Regions from separate parts of the Homo sapiens genome. Here region 1 is linked to region 2. Evidence: promoter capture Hi-C in human tissues and cell types (Jung and others, 2019). All regions are on one chromosome and are shown on one strand. Each heading gives the region's core, a stretch centred on a gene start or on the middle of the fragment in contact. The rest is flanking DNA. Distances are from core to core; before and after follow the strand shown. Region 1 overlaps FADS1 (fatty acid desaturase 1). Region 2 holds the start of MTA2 (metastasis associated 1 family member 2).

Evidence for each region. Contacts are between HindIII fragments. The study calls those that stand out against the background at their distance.
Region 1: a contact is called between a fragment that was not itself captured here and the fragment with the promoter of MTA2 in region 2, in 1 of the 25 tissues and cell types used here (dorsolateral prefrontal cortex).

The regions. Positions count from the first base shown.
Region 1 is chr11:61,808,252-61,814,637 of GRCh38, reverse strand. FADS1 (fatty acid desaturase 1) reads left to right here. Exons shown (of 12, transcript NM_013402.7): 2 at 1,285-1,395; 3 at 1,970-2,167; 4 at 3,563-3,664; 5 at 3,759-3,887. Among named protein-coding and RNA genes, the nearest start is that of MIR1908, 3.8 kb to the left of the region's middle. The HindIII fragment of the contact is 3,503 bases long and covers 1-3,099 here.
Region 2 is chr11:62,600,596-62,606,747 of GRCh38, reverse strand. MTA2 (metastasis associated 1 family member 2) reads left to right here and starts at 4,883. Exons shown (of 18, transcript NM_004739.4): 1 at 4,883-5,325; 2 at 6,059-6,126. The coding sequence starts at 5,298. It overlaps EML3 (EMAP like 3), which reads left to right. Exons shown (of 22, transcript NM_153265.3): 13 at 534-685; 14 at 768-893; 15 at 975-1,106; 16 at 1,568-1,635; 17 at 2,547-2,635; 18 at 2,707-2,804; 19 at 2,932-3,019; 20 at 3,501-3,599; 21 at 3,859-3,989; 22 at 4,070-4,530. The coding sequence ends at 4,273. RefSeq lists enhancers at 3,170-3,879, 4,388-4,437, 5,818-5,867, 5,302-6,012 and silencers at 5,188-5,237, 5,308-5,407, 5,488-5,567. The HindIII fragment of the contact is 13,173 bases long and covers 1-6,152 here.

The DNA.
Region 1 (6,386 bases), core at 99-2,598, 790 kb after region 2:
AGTTCCCTTACAGGCTGTGGAAGCATTGTTCTTTTGCTCGTCACACTAAACCTTGCTGCTGCTCATTCTTTGGGTCTGCAAAGAGTGTTATTCCTTTAAGAGCTATAACAGCGGGAAGGTCCACGGCTCCATTCTTGAAGTCAGTGAGACCATACCCGCCGGAAGGAACCAACGCCCGACACAGCCCCACCCATCTCTCCTGTTTCTCACCTATACTGAAATTCTTGGGCAAAAGCTGTCTGTGGACACACCCAGGGGAAAGGCCAGCCCAGGCAGGTGTTTCTTAGTGGTTCCCCTCAGCCAATGCTTCCCATTCCTTGATGCATCCTTCTAACTAGAGCAGATACTCGGTGATCTTAAACTGTGGACACCTGGGAGCACCCTCAAAAGGCAGCTGGGCCTAGGGAGATGGCCTGTGCTTCTGTGTCAGGAGTTGGTTCCTTCAGGTGGGCTCGTGGTCTCGCTGACGTCAAGAATGAAGCCATGAACCTTCGCGGTGAGTGTTACAGCTCTTACAGGTGGCGTGGACCCAAAGAGTGAGCAGCAGCAAGATTTATTGTGAAGAGCAAAGAACAAAGCTTCCACAGCGTGGAAGGGTACCCGAGCAGGTTGCCGCTGCTGGACGTTGGGGGGTGTGAGGGGGAGCAGCCTTTTTTTTTTTTTTTTTTTTTGAGACGGAGTCTCCCTGTCGCCCAGGCTGGAGTGCAGTGGCGCGATCTCGGCTCACTGCAGGCTCCGCCCTCCCCCGGGGTTCACGCCATTCTCCTGCCTCAGCCTCCCGAGTAGCTGGGACTACAGGCGCCCGCTACCTCGCCCGGCTAATTTTTTGTATTTTTAGTAGAGACGGGGTTTCACTGTGTTAGCCAGGATGGTCTCGATCTCCTGACCTCGTGATCCACCCGCCTTGGCCTCCCAAAGTGCTGGGATTACAGGCGTGAGCCACCGCGCCCGGCCGGGAGCAGCTTTTATTCCCTTATTTGTCCCTGCCCATGTCCTGCTGATTTGTCCATTTTATAGAGCACTGATTGGTCCATTTTACAGGGTGCTGATTGGTCCATTTTACCTCTAGCTAGCTAAAGAGCACGGATTGGTGCATTTTACAAACCTCTAGCTACAGAAAAGTTCTCCAAGTCTGCACTCGACCCAGGAAGTCCATCTGGCTTCACCTCTCACTTCAACTTGGGTACAGCCTTCTGGCGGGCAGGAGGATGGCCTTTGGTGCGAACACTGCCGGAGTCCAGGGGGCTGGCTCCCTCACCTTTCATCTTCTCCCGGCACTTGCAGGATCCCTTTGTGGCCTTCCACATCAACAAGGGCCTTGTGAAGAAGTATATGAACTCTCTCCTGATTGGAGAACTGTCTCCAGAGCAGCCCAGCTTTGAGCCCACCAAGAATGTAAGACCCTGTGTTTGCTATGTCGCAACTATTGGTTGTTGAGGGGGACAGAGAGGGGGTGGAAGGAGAGTCTAGATGGGATCACAGTCATAGTAATCACAGTCAGTAGTAGCTCTGGGGAGTCTTGAGGTCCCTGCTTCTCTTGCATAGTCATGAGGTCACAGGCCCAAGGGAGCATGGCTTTGCAACCTATGGCTCCCCCAAGGCTGCCACTACCATGGCTGCCATCATTGTTATCATCATTGTTATCATATGAGCACTTACTATGCACCAAGCATAAACTCATAACTCTTACACATTTACAGATGAGATAACAGGCTCAGGGAGGTTAAGCAACACAGCCAAGGATCACACAGTTAGTAAATGGCAGAGCAAGGACTTAGTCCCCTGAACTCTTAGGCACTATCCCATGGCACCTCCTCCTGTCATCCTCATTGTCGTGGTATCTTTGCCTAGGACTGTGGACTTCCCACAGCTACCTCAGTGGGAGGTCCTTGAGCCTGAGAGGGCCCTTGTCTCCAGTAGCATTGGGGTGCAGATGAGAAGAATAACAGCTCCTCTTCCTCTTCTGCAGAAAGAGCTGACAGATGAGTTCCGGGAGCTGCGGGCCACAGTGGAGCGGATGGGGCTCATGAAGGCCAACCATGTCTTCTTCCTGCTGTACCTGCTGCACATCTTGCTGCTGGATGGTGCAGCCTGGCTCACCCTTTGGGTCTTTGGGACGTCCTTTTTGCCCTTCCTCCTCTGTGCGGTGCTGCTCAGTGCAGTTCAGGTGAGAGCCTTTGGCTTGTCAAGTGCACAGCAATGCTCAGCATCCCTGGGGAAAGCTCCTTGGGTGTTTGAGGAAGGCCAAGAGTGCCTGCCCTCCAAGCAGGGCAGATCTGAAGGTATGCAGGAGTGAGTGCAGGAACATGCATTCTGCTGTCTTGACCTGTCTGCTCTTTAGCCACATGGACATCTTCATTTCTCTCACTGCCTTTTTAGCTGCTTCTCCAAGGGTTCTCTTCTTCCTATGCGGTTTGTTCTCTGCCACAGCCCACCTGTGCCAGGAGCCAAGTTTCTGGTTTCTTAGCAAAGCTTGGCTCCCTCCCCACCACTGACATTGCCCAATATGTTAATAATGATTGAGCGCTAATTCTTGACTGTCAGGACCCATTTGGCAAGCCTTCTGCTCATGTTTCAGTCCTTTCTGTATTCTAGATGTCAGTCCATCATAAGTCATGAGCTTCAGGCCAGGTGTGGTGACTCATGTCTGTAATCCTAGCACTTTGGGAGGCCAAGGTGGCCGGATCACTTGATCTCAGTTCAAGACCAGCCTGGCCAACGTGGTGAAACCTCTACTAAAAATACAAAAAGGCCAGGCACAGTGGCTCACGCCTGTAATACCAGTACCTTGGGAGGCCAAGATGGGCAGATCATTTGAGGTGAGGAGTTCAAGACCACCTGGCCAACATGGTGAAACCCCGTCTCTATTAAAATACAACAGTTAGCTGGGAGTGGTGGTGGGTGCCTGTAATCCCAGCTACATGGGAGGCTGAGGCAGGAGAATTGCTTGAACCTGGGAAGCGAAGGTTGCAGTGAGCCGAGTTGGCACCATTGCACTCCAGCCTGGGCAACAGAGCGACACTCTCAAAACAGGCCAGGTATGGTGGCTCACGCCTGTTATCCCAGCAGTTTGGGAGGCCAAGGTGGGCAGATCACCTGAGGTCAGGAGTTCGAGACCAGCCTGGCTAACATGGTGAAACCTCGACTCTTACTAAAAATACAAAAAAATCAGCCAGGCTTGGTGGCGGGCACCTGTAATCCCAGCTACTTGGGAGGCTGAGGCAGGAGAATTACTTGAACCCAGGAGGCGGAGGTTGCAGTGATCTGAAACCGCACCATTGCACTCCAGCCTGGGCAACAAGAACAAAACTGTCTCAAAAAAAAAAAGTCATGAGCTTCGGAGCTGGCGAAACAGAAGAACAGAGAAGGGATGGTGATTTGCCCCAACTCACGTGTGAGTCAGTGGCAGAGGCAGAACTAGGACCCATGTTTCCTGACTCCTGAGGTGCATCACAGGCCTTGGCAGATGAAGGAAGTGGGAGAGGCTGAAGGAGGCATCGAGGTCAGTGAAGGCGACACTGGGGCTGGTGGGCTGCTCTCAGTGTTGACTCTTCTCACCTAGGCCCAGGCTGGCTGGCTGCAGCATGACTTTGGGCACCTGTCGGTCTTCAGCACCTCAAAGTGGAACCATCTGCTACATCATTTTGTGATTGGCCACCTGAAGGTCAGTGGGATGGGGAGGAGCTCTCTAAAACTCCAGGCAATGAAGGGCTGCCTTGGGGGAAGCTTTTCATACTCGTGTCCCTGCTTTTCTGTAGGGGGCCCCCGCCAGTTGGTGGAACCACATGCACTTCCAGCACCATGCCAAGCCCAACTGCTTCCGCAAAGACCCAGACATCAACATGCATCCCTTCTTCTTTGCCTTGGGGAAGATCCTCTCTGTGGAGGTGCGTGGAGGTATCAGTGGAAAGGTCTTGGGGAATAGGAGGCAGCCAACATAGGGGAGTTGGGGAAGATGCCCACGATGTTGTCAGTGTGGGCAAGACACTGGGGCTGGGCTGGCTGGGGCTTTTGCCATTTTGGAAGTTCTGGAAGGCAACAGGCAATAGATGGGGGCTGCCCAGGAGGGAGTCACCATCCTCCCTAGAGAGTTCAGTCAGCAAACCGTTACTGCATAAAAGGCACCTCATTTTGCAAAGGATCCAGCGGATGACCAGAAGGATCCAAATGATGAGATAGCCTATCCTTGAAGGTGCTGATGGCACCTCCTGGAGGTGCTTTTTTGACACTCTTGCCCCAGGCAAGTATTCCCCTTGCACTTTGTATTTCTCTCCCACACTTAGGTATCCTTCTTGTCACAGTCTTCTCTGTCCAGGGCTGGACTGTCTTACTCTTCTTTCATGTCCAATATCTGGAACATTCATTCACTGAGTACTTCTTCCCACCCTGCTGATCCCCAGCCTGATTTCCTGGGTGGTCAGCGTTGGGTTTGAGATGTCGTCTGAAGTTGTAAGCAGAAATAATGTAGCTGCTGAAGGAATAATGCCTGGGGGTGGAGATCTGGTGAGCTTTTAGTGAGCATTAGGCAATGGAAGGTTCTAAAAGGCCAGCAGAATTCTTTGAAAAGTTCATTTAAAGCCCTTTGTCCCAAGGCTGTAGGCTGCAGAGTTCTTCCAGGTCCACCTCCTCCACTTTGTGACATTTCAGCTTGCGAGGAATTAAATTGTCGTTAAAACACATTTCAGTTCTAGGCATGAGTTCAAGGTAGCCTGGCGTTCCTCTCGCCCCTGGCCATGAGAACTTTGAAAGGGCTTTGGCAGCACTGGTTGGCCTGGCATGAGGAGCTCATAGCTTGAGGCTCATGCCCCACCTGTCCATAATGTTCTTATTTTCCCATCATGAGCATGGACTTGGGTTTGTTACATGTCCGATACCATTATGGTCAGTACTATGCAGATGACGAAGCAGCCCTGTCCCCCGTCTGACTCCCATGGCTGCTTCAAGGGCAGTGTGGTTATTTGCTGGGCAGTGGCATGGGGCTTGTGCATTTCTACTGTCACTACAGAGGGTTTAAAAAAAAGACATGGGCAGGTTAAGTGGAAGGGAACAGTCTCACACCACTACCTTTATTGCTTCTTGGTACTTGGGTTTTCAGGAAATTCCTATCAGCAGACATCAAAAACAGAGAATGAAGGGACGCAGTTGGCATGTGCCTGTGGTCCCAGCTACTTGGGAGGCTGAGGTGGGAGCATCGCTTGAGCCCAGGAGGTGAAGGCTGCAGTGAGTATGATCACGCCACTGCACTCCAGCCTGGGTAACAGCGCAACCCTGTGTGTAAAAATAATAATTTTTTAAAAAGATTAAAACCAAAAAAAAATTGTAAACAGAGTTCAACGTAACTTACAGATTAAAAACAGTAAAATATGACAGAAACTGAGAGGTAGTCATGATCAGATATGGCCTCCTTCGGGTGCCGACATCTGAACTGAGACCTGAATGATGAAAAGGGCCAACACTGCAAAAATTCAGGGAAGGAACATTTGGAACAGAGAGAACAGTCAAGTACAGAGGCTCCCGGATGTTCAGGGACAGTAAGCAATGAGAGAATGAGAAGACCAGAAAACTAGGGAGGGGCCAGATCATGTAGGGCCTTAGAAAGCCATGGTAAGGGTGTGGTAAGAAGTTTGGGTTTTATTCCAATAGCAATGGGGAGTCACAGGAGGGTTTCTGGTGGGTACAGCAATCTGCTTTGCACTTTAAAAGGCTTGCTCTGGCTGGAGGTGGAGAGGATGAATTATAGAGGGTAGGTATAATCACAGATATAACCTCAGTGAGGCGGCTGGAGCGAGTCCAGACCAGACCACGGAGGAGCAGGTGAAGCCAATGGATTTGGGATATGTTTTGGAGGCAGTGTAAGCAACGCTTGCTGAGGACCTGGATGTGGTGGTGAGAATCACCCCATCTCGAGCAACATTAACTGAGGAAAAAATTGAAAAAGGGGCGCCCTTGCTTGGGGGCTTCCTATTGTGGAACTGTTATGGAAAGGAGCCCCATCCATTGCTTCCTCCTTGAATGGCAAATGCCTTTATGATCCCTATAACTTGTCCCATTATGTTTAGACCCTTGGTGGTCAGAAGGGTTCTATTTAGGGCAGTGTCCCCTGCCCCTCCTTGTCCTCCAAAAATTTTGGGAGGCACTGACGTGGATGTCATGGGGTCAGCACAGGCATCAACATCCCCAGAGGGATGGAACCAAGCAGCCTATTGCCCAGGCATTCACTAACAGGCAGCCCATCCTCAGCCTCATAGCTGGCCGGGGAGAAGAAAGGCTATTTTGGGTCCCAGATCTTTTTTTTTTTTTTTGAGACAGAGTCTCGCTCTGTCACCCAGGCTGAAGTGCAATGGTGCGGTCTCAGCTCACTACAACCTCCGCCTCCCGAGTTCAAG
Region 2 (6,152 bases), core at 3,634-6,133:
GTAGCTGGAAGTACAGGCACACGCCACCACGCCCAGCTAATTTTTGTATTTTTAGTAGAGATGGGGTTTTGCCATGTTGGCCAGGCTGGTCTCGAATTCCTGACCTCAGGTGATCCGCCCGCCTTGGCCTCCCAAAGTGCTGGGATTACAGGCGTGAGCCACGGCGCCCAGCCAGGTTTCCCACCTTTTTACCTTGAGAGTTGATAGTTCTCTTGGGGGCTAGTCTAGAAGCGTGTGGGCAGCACAGCAAAGGAGAAACGGCTGGAGCTTTGTGTTTGCCAGATCTCAGGTTCAGATTCCAGTTTTGCTATTAGTTGCCTTGCCTTTAGGAAGTTACCTCATTTCTGTGAGTCTCAGTTGTCCTGTTTGTAAAATGGGGAGAATAACAGATGTGTTGGCAGTATGAGGATGAGACATAGTAGTCAGTGCATGCAATGGCTGGGAGTTCTTACTGTATTGCGACAGCCAAGCTGGCCCTGTTTCTCACTCCCCTGCACCCCCAAAACATGATCTACCTGGGGCTTTGCCAACAGAGACCTATGGGATTGTGGCCCAGGCTCACGCTCATGAAGGTTCTATCTTCGCCTTGTGTCTCCGGAGGGACGGGACAGTGCTGAGTGGTGGCGGGCGGGACCGCCGGCTGGTACAGTGGGGGCCCGGGTTGGTGGCCCTCCAGGAGGCTGAGGTGAGGGCTGGGCTGGGGTCAAGGGAGTGAGGGAGAAGAGCAATAGTCAGTGGGCTCTTGACATTCTGCTACCACTCTGCAGATTCCCGAGCACTTCGGGGCCGTGCGAGCCATTGCTGAAGGGCTTGGCTCTGAGCTGCTGGTGGGAACCACGAAGAATGCATTGCTGAGGGGAGACCTGGCCCAGGGCTTCTCCCCTGTAATCCAGGTTGGGGGTTAAGGGCTCAGGGGAGGAAGGGACAAAGGGGTGTGAGAGAGGGGCAGGAGTGACAGTCATGCTGTGCTGCAGGGCCACACTGATGAGCTCTGGGGGCTCTGCACACACCCCTCCCAGAACCGCTTCCTCACCTGCGGCCACGACCGGCAGCTCTGCCTGTGGGATGGGGAGAGCCATGCACTGGCCTGGAGCATCGACCTCAAGGTAGAGCCCTGTGCCCCTGGATCCCCCATGCCACACCCACCAGGACACCTGTGGCCACCACGCCTTCCCCAGCACCTTGCCTTCTGCCTCCCAGAGGTGGCCAGTTTGTACTGGTATGGCTGCACTGGCTACTCAAATATTAATTTTTCTGTACTGACTGGTAAAAGCTGATGCTTCTAGTACCACCTGGGCACTCCCTGCCGCCCCCAGAACCCCTCAGACTTCCTCTTGATCCAGCACCTAAATGGTTAATCTCCAGCACAGCTATTGGCATCAGTTCTGTGGTTAAATATTTTGGTATCACTCCCTGTTCAGGCTCCAGTGATACCCGGGTATCCCTTCCCTCTCTTCCCATCTTCTCCTTGGGAGTAAGTGGCTTTGAAGTTAGGAGGACAAGGGGTTCACTCTGGTTCCCTCACTAGAAAGACATCATCTTGAATTCACCTTCTCCCCTCTCCCAGGAGACTGGTCTCTGTGCTGACTTCCACCCGAGTGGGGCAGTTGTGGCCGTAGGACTGAACACGGGGAGGTGAGAGAGAGCCAGGACTCCCAGGAGGGAAAGCAGGGAGGACTGGGAAGGGTTCCTGGTACTGGGGGAGTGGGCGAGAGTGACCACCTCTACCCAGGAGCCACCTGCGCCTTGGCACTCCTCTGTGCCTCTCCCTGCAGCCCCTGCCACCCGGGCTCCCCTCCTCTTCTGTGGTAACTGTTTCTCCCCCTCCCCCAACCCAGTGTCTCCTCCAAGCCTGGGAGTGGAGGAGGCAGCAGCCCAGGATAGAGAAACAGTGGGAATGGGAGGGGCATAGACAAACACAGGGAAGTGACAGGCTTCCAGCTTGCACAGTGCCTTTGTAGTCGGCCCCTGGTCTGTAGTTTCAGATTACTTTTTCAGACGACATCAGAAGCCCCTCAGCCTTTATCCACACTTAGCTCCTTCCCATTTCTCAGCATAAGAATGCAGTGGTGGCCAGGTGCGGTGGCTCACGCCTGTAATCCTAGCGCTTTGGGAGCTGAGGCGGGTGGATCACTTGAGGTCAGGAGTTCAAGACCAGCCTGGCCAACATGGTGAAACCTCGTCTCCACTAAAAATACAAAAATTAGACGGGCATGGTGGTACGCACCTGTAATTCTAGCTACTCAGGAGGCTGAGGCATGAGAATCACTTGAACCCAGGAGGTGGAGGTTGCGTTGAGATCTTGCCACTGCACTCCAGCCTGGGTGACAGAGTGAGACTCTGTCTCAAAACAACAACAACAACAACAACAAACTAAAAAAGAAGAATGCAGTTGTGACCTGTCTTCTACATCAGAGCCTTTCTGTGTGTGTCTCTGAGCTTCTCTTATTTGCCATCCCCAAGCCTACCCAGGGTGGCCTCCCTGGGGGTCTCCTTACATCCTGCCTTTTCGTCTTCCTATCTGCCTCCACTTCCCTCCCTTCCAGGTGGTTGGTTTTGGACACAGAGACCAGAGAGATCGTGTCTGATGTCATTGATGGCAATGAGCAGCTCTCAGTGGTCCGGTACAGCCCAGGTGGGAGCCACCCCAACCCTGGACTCACATGCGTCCCTGGCCCTTCCCTCTCTGAGTGACTGTATTTGCAGATGGGTTGTACCTGGCCATTGGTTCCCATGACAACGTGATCTACATCTATAGTGTTTCCAGTGATGGTGCCAAATCCAGCCGCTTTGGCCGCTGTATGGTGAGGAAGTTGGGGTGTGTGGTGGGGCATGATAACAGCTGCGAAACTCAGGGGTCTGATGCATCAAGGGGGCTCTGGGGATGGGAAATGGATGGGATACTTTAAAACTCTTGACCTTTGCTCCCAGGGTCACTCCAGCTTCATCACTCATCTTGACTGGTCCAAGGATGGGAATTTCATCATGTCCAATTCTGGGGACTATGAGATTCTTTACTGTGAGTGGCAGTGGAGCAGGACATGGGGAGAGGGTAATTGGAGTGGGTTTTGTGTAGGGGGGGCTGTTAGAGGTGTTGTTAGATAAGGAAGTGGAGATGGGGTTAAAGTGGAGTTGGAATTATATGTAGGAGAAATTTCGTGATTTGGAAACAACTAGTTTCACACCATGTCTTGTTGACTTGAGGGAGTTCAAAAATGCGCTAAGAAAAGATTGTTTGGGAAAAGTTTCTCAGGGCAAGTGTGGAGCACTTGACTTATCTAGGGAGGAGGAACTCGTGGAAGCTGTTAGAACTTCAGCCAGAGCTCAGGACAGGACGCACACAGGGTGGGTTTCACAGGGGGAGGAGGTGATGCTACTACGGTGACCAGATCACATGCCATCGCCGGGTTTCATGCCAGTCTTTCCAGTCTGGCTTTCCCTGGCATCTTCCCTACTGAGGGCAGGGTGAGAGCTGAGCTGGGCGGGCTCCCTCTCCCCAGGGGACGTGGCTGGAGGCTGCAAGCAGCTGAAGAATCGCTATGAGAGCCGAGACCGGGAATGGGCTACCTACACCTGTGTGCTGGGCTTTCACGTCTACGGTGAGCAGGGGCGTGGAAACCTGCTGGAAGGGTGGGGGACAAGGTGGAGCCCAGTTTGGGCTTGGAACGCTGGGCGTGTGTCGTTGGGTGAGAGTCCAGAAACCTGAAGATCCAGCCCAGGAGGCCCCTCGGGACCGGGAAGGCTTGCCTGGAACGCGGCAGTGGGTGGCCGCGGCTGCCGGAGCGCCTGAAATGGTGTAGCTCTGGGCCGTGGGTGGCGGTGGGTAGGAGGTCGGGCTGAGGCCGGCCGCTGTGCTAGGCGTCTGGCCGGACGGCTCCGATGGGACCGACATCAACTCCCTGTGCCGCTCCCACAACGAGCGCGTGGTGGCGGTGGCCGACGACTTCTGCAAAGTGCATCTCTTCCAGTACCCGTGCGCTCGTGCCAAGGTGAGGCCGCGGGGATCGCCGGGGTGGGACCGGTGGGCCCGAGGGCTCAGCCGCCACCGCAACTCTTCCCTCCGGCCCAGGCGCCGAGCCGCATGTACGGGGGCCACGGCAGCCACGTGACCAGCGTCCGATTCACGCACGACGACTCGCACCTCGTCTCGCTGGGCGGCAAGGACGCCAGCATCTTCCAGTGGCGAGTGCTGGGCGCTGGGGGCGCGGGGCCGGCGCCCGCCACGCCCTCTCGAACCCCCTCCCTGTCCCCCGCCTCCTCCCTCGACGTTTGATCGCTGCCTGGCGGGACCGACTGGCCCGGCGGCGTGGCCCCGCCCCGCCCTGCCCTTCCCTGGCCCAATCCCCCACGACTAGGGGCCGACTCTTTCCTGGACTGACTTCGAGACATTCCCGATCGCGCATTTTCCTGGAGGGCGCGAACGGCGCCCCTGCACACACTGTTTAGACCCGCTGGCTGAGCCGGGCAGCCCCAGCCTAGGCCTTGACTCCCGCTGCCTGCTGAGGGGCAATAAACCAGAACCAAAGTCGCCTCCCGGTGCTTTTGTGGGGCGCTGCCGGGCGCCTCCGGGGCTCTGTGGGGTGGGGACGAAGGAAAAGAGGCGTGCGGAAAGGGTAAGGGAGCGTAGACCATTTATGCAAATGACAGGCAAAGCCGCTTGCAAATAACCTGGCGAAGCGCTAAGGCGCGCGAGTCTTTGGGGCGCGAGGAGGAGCTGCAGGGCTCCAGCGAGGACAGAGTTAAGCCCGACTCCTCTCCCGCCCTCGGAAAAGGGGGTGGGGCCGAGCTGCGACGGAAATAGCCGAGCGGTTGCCCGACAGGAGCCGAACTTCTTCCGGAAGTAGCCGATCTGCGGGGTCTCGCTCTCCGACCTGAGCCGAGCAGTGGGCCTTGTTCTCCGGATCGGCCGAAGGTGTTCCGGAAGGAGGCGAACCCTGAGGCGGGCCCGGCAAGCCTTCCCTGCGGCCGGCAGAGCCCAACGACTAGTGGGACTCCGCGGGGGCGGGGGTAGCTGGAGCCTGGCTCTGGCCTGGCAGGAGCCGAGCTCGTTCCGGAAGAAGCCGAGCGGACGGGGGCCAGCCTCAGCGTCCCGGGAGTGAGGCGATAGCTGCGGCGGCGACAGCGCGGGCCGGGATGAACCGCGACGGCTGAGGCAGCGGAGGTGCCGGCTGCGCGGGCCCCAGTGAGACTCCCTCGAAGCGGCAGCCCACCGTTCGGGGCTTTGCCTCGAGCCGAGCCCTGCCCCCGCGAGCCTCCCGGACCCCTTTGTGCGGCCGGAGGCGGCGGCGGGAACGGCCATGGCGGCCAACATGTACCGGGTGGGAGGTGAGTACCGGGCGCAGGGATACGGGGCCCGGGGCGGGAGAGGTTGGGGTAGGGACCTGAGGGGCTCGGCACCGGGTGGCGCGAGGCGCAGCGTATGGGGCAGCGTGGACCGGAGCGCGGACCGGAACCGGAACCGGGAGACGAGGAGAGAGGGTGCGGGGAACCGCGACGCGGCAGGGCTCCGAGACTCCCAGAGAGAAGCTGCGGGCAGCCCCGACGGCACTTTCGGGGCTGCGTCAGGGGCTCCCCGGGGCACGGAGTGGCCTTCGGAACCGGTTCCGAAGGAGCTGACAGGGTAGGGAGGGAACGCGAGGGGCTGGGGCGACGGCTTTGCCACCGCGGGGGAGCCGCCCGGAGGTTTCCTCTTCCCAGGCGTTATTGTGCGCCTCGATTCGAAAAGGTAGGGGCCCTGCGCTAGAGCGGACAATTACTTCGCCGCGACTGGGGTGCAACTCATCGCTGAGTTGTGGGGACTGCAGGGGAACCCCTGCTTCTTGCCTGTTCCTTAAGGCTCTCTTTTGAGTAAAGGATCTAATTTTAGAACTAGGTGCGGTGGGGATGGGGGACATCCTTATTTTCTCTTAGTCTGTCCACTTTCACATCTCAGCGCCCTTTCTACCTGAATCCTTATCTCCTTTTGATCCACTCAGGCCAACTTTCTCTCCTACCCTGGTGCTCTGCGTCTCCCATCTCCTCTGATCTTCGTGGTTCTCCCCCCTCCCTTCCCTTACAGATTACGTCTATTTTGAGAACTCTTCCAGCAATCCTTACCTGGTTAGACGGATTGAGGAGCTCAACAAGGTGAGTGGAGCAGAATCCCTCTCCCT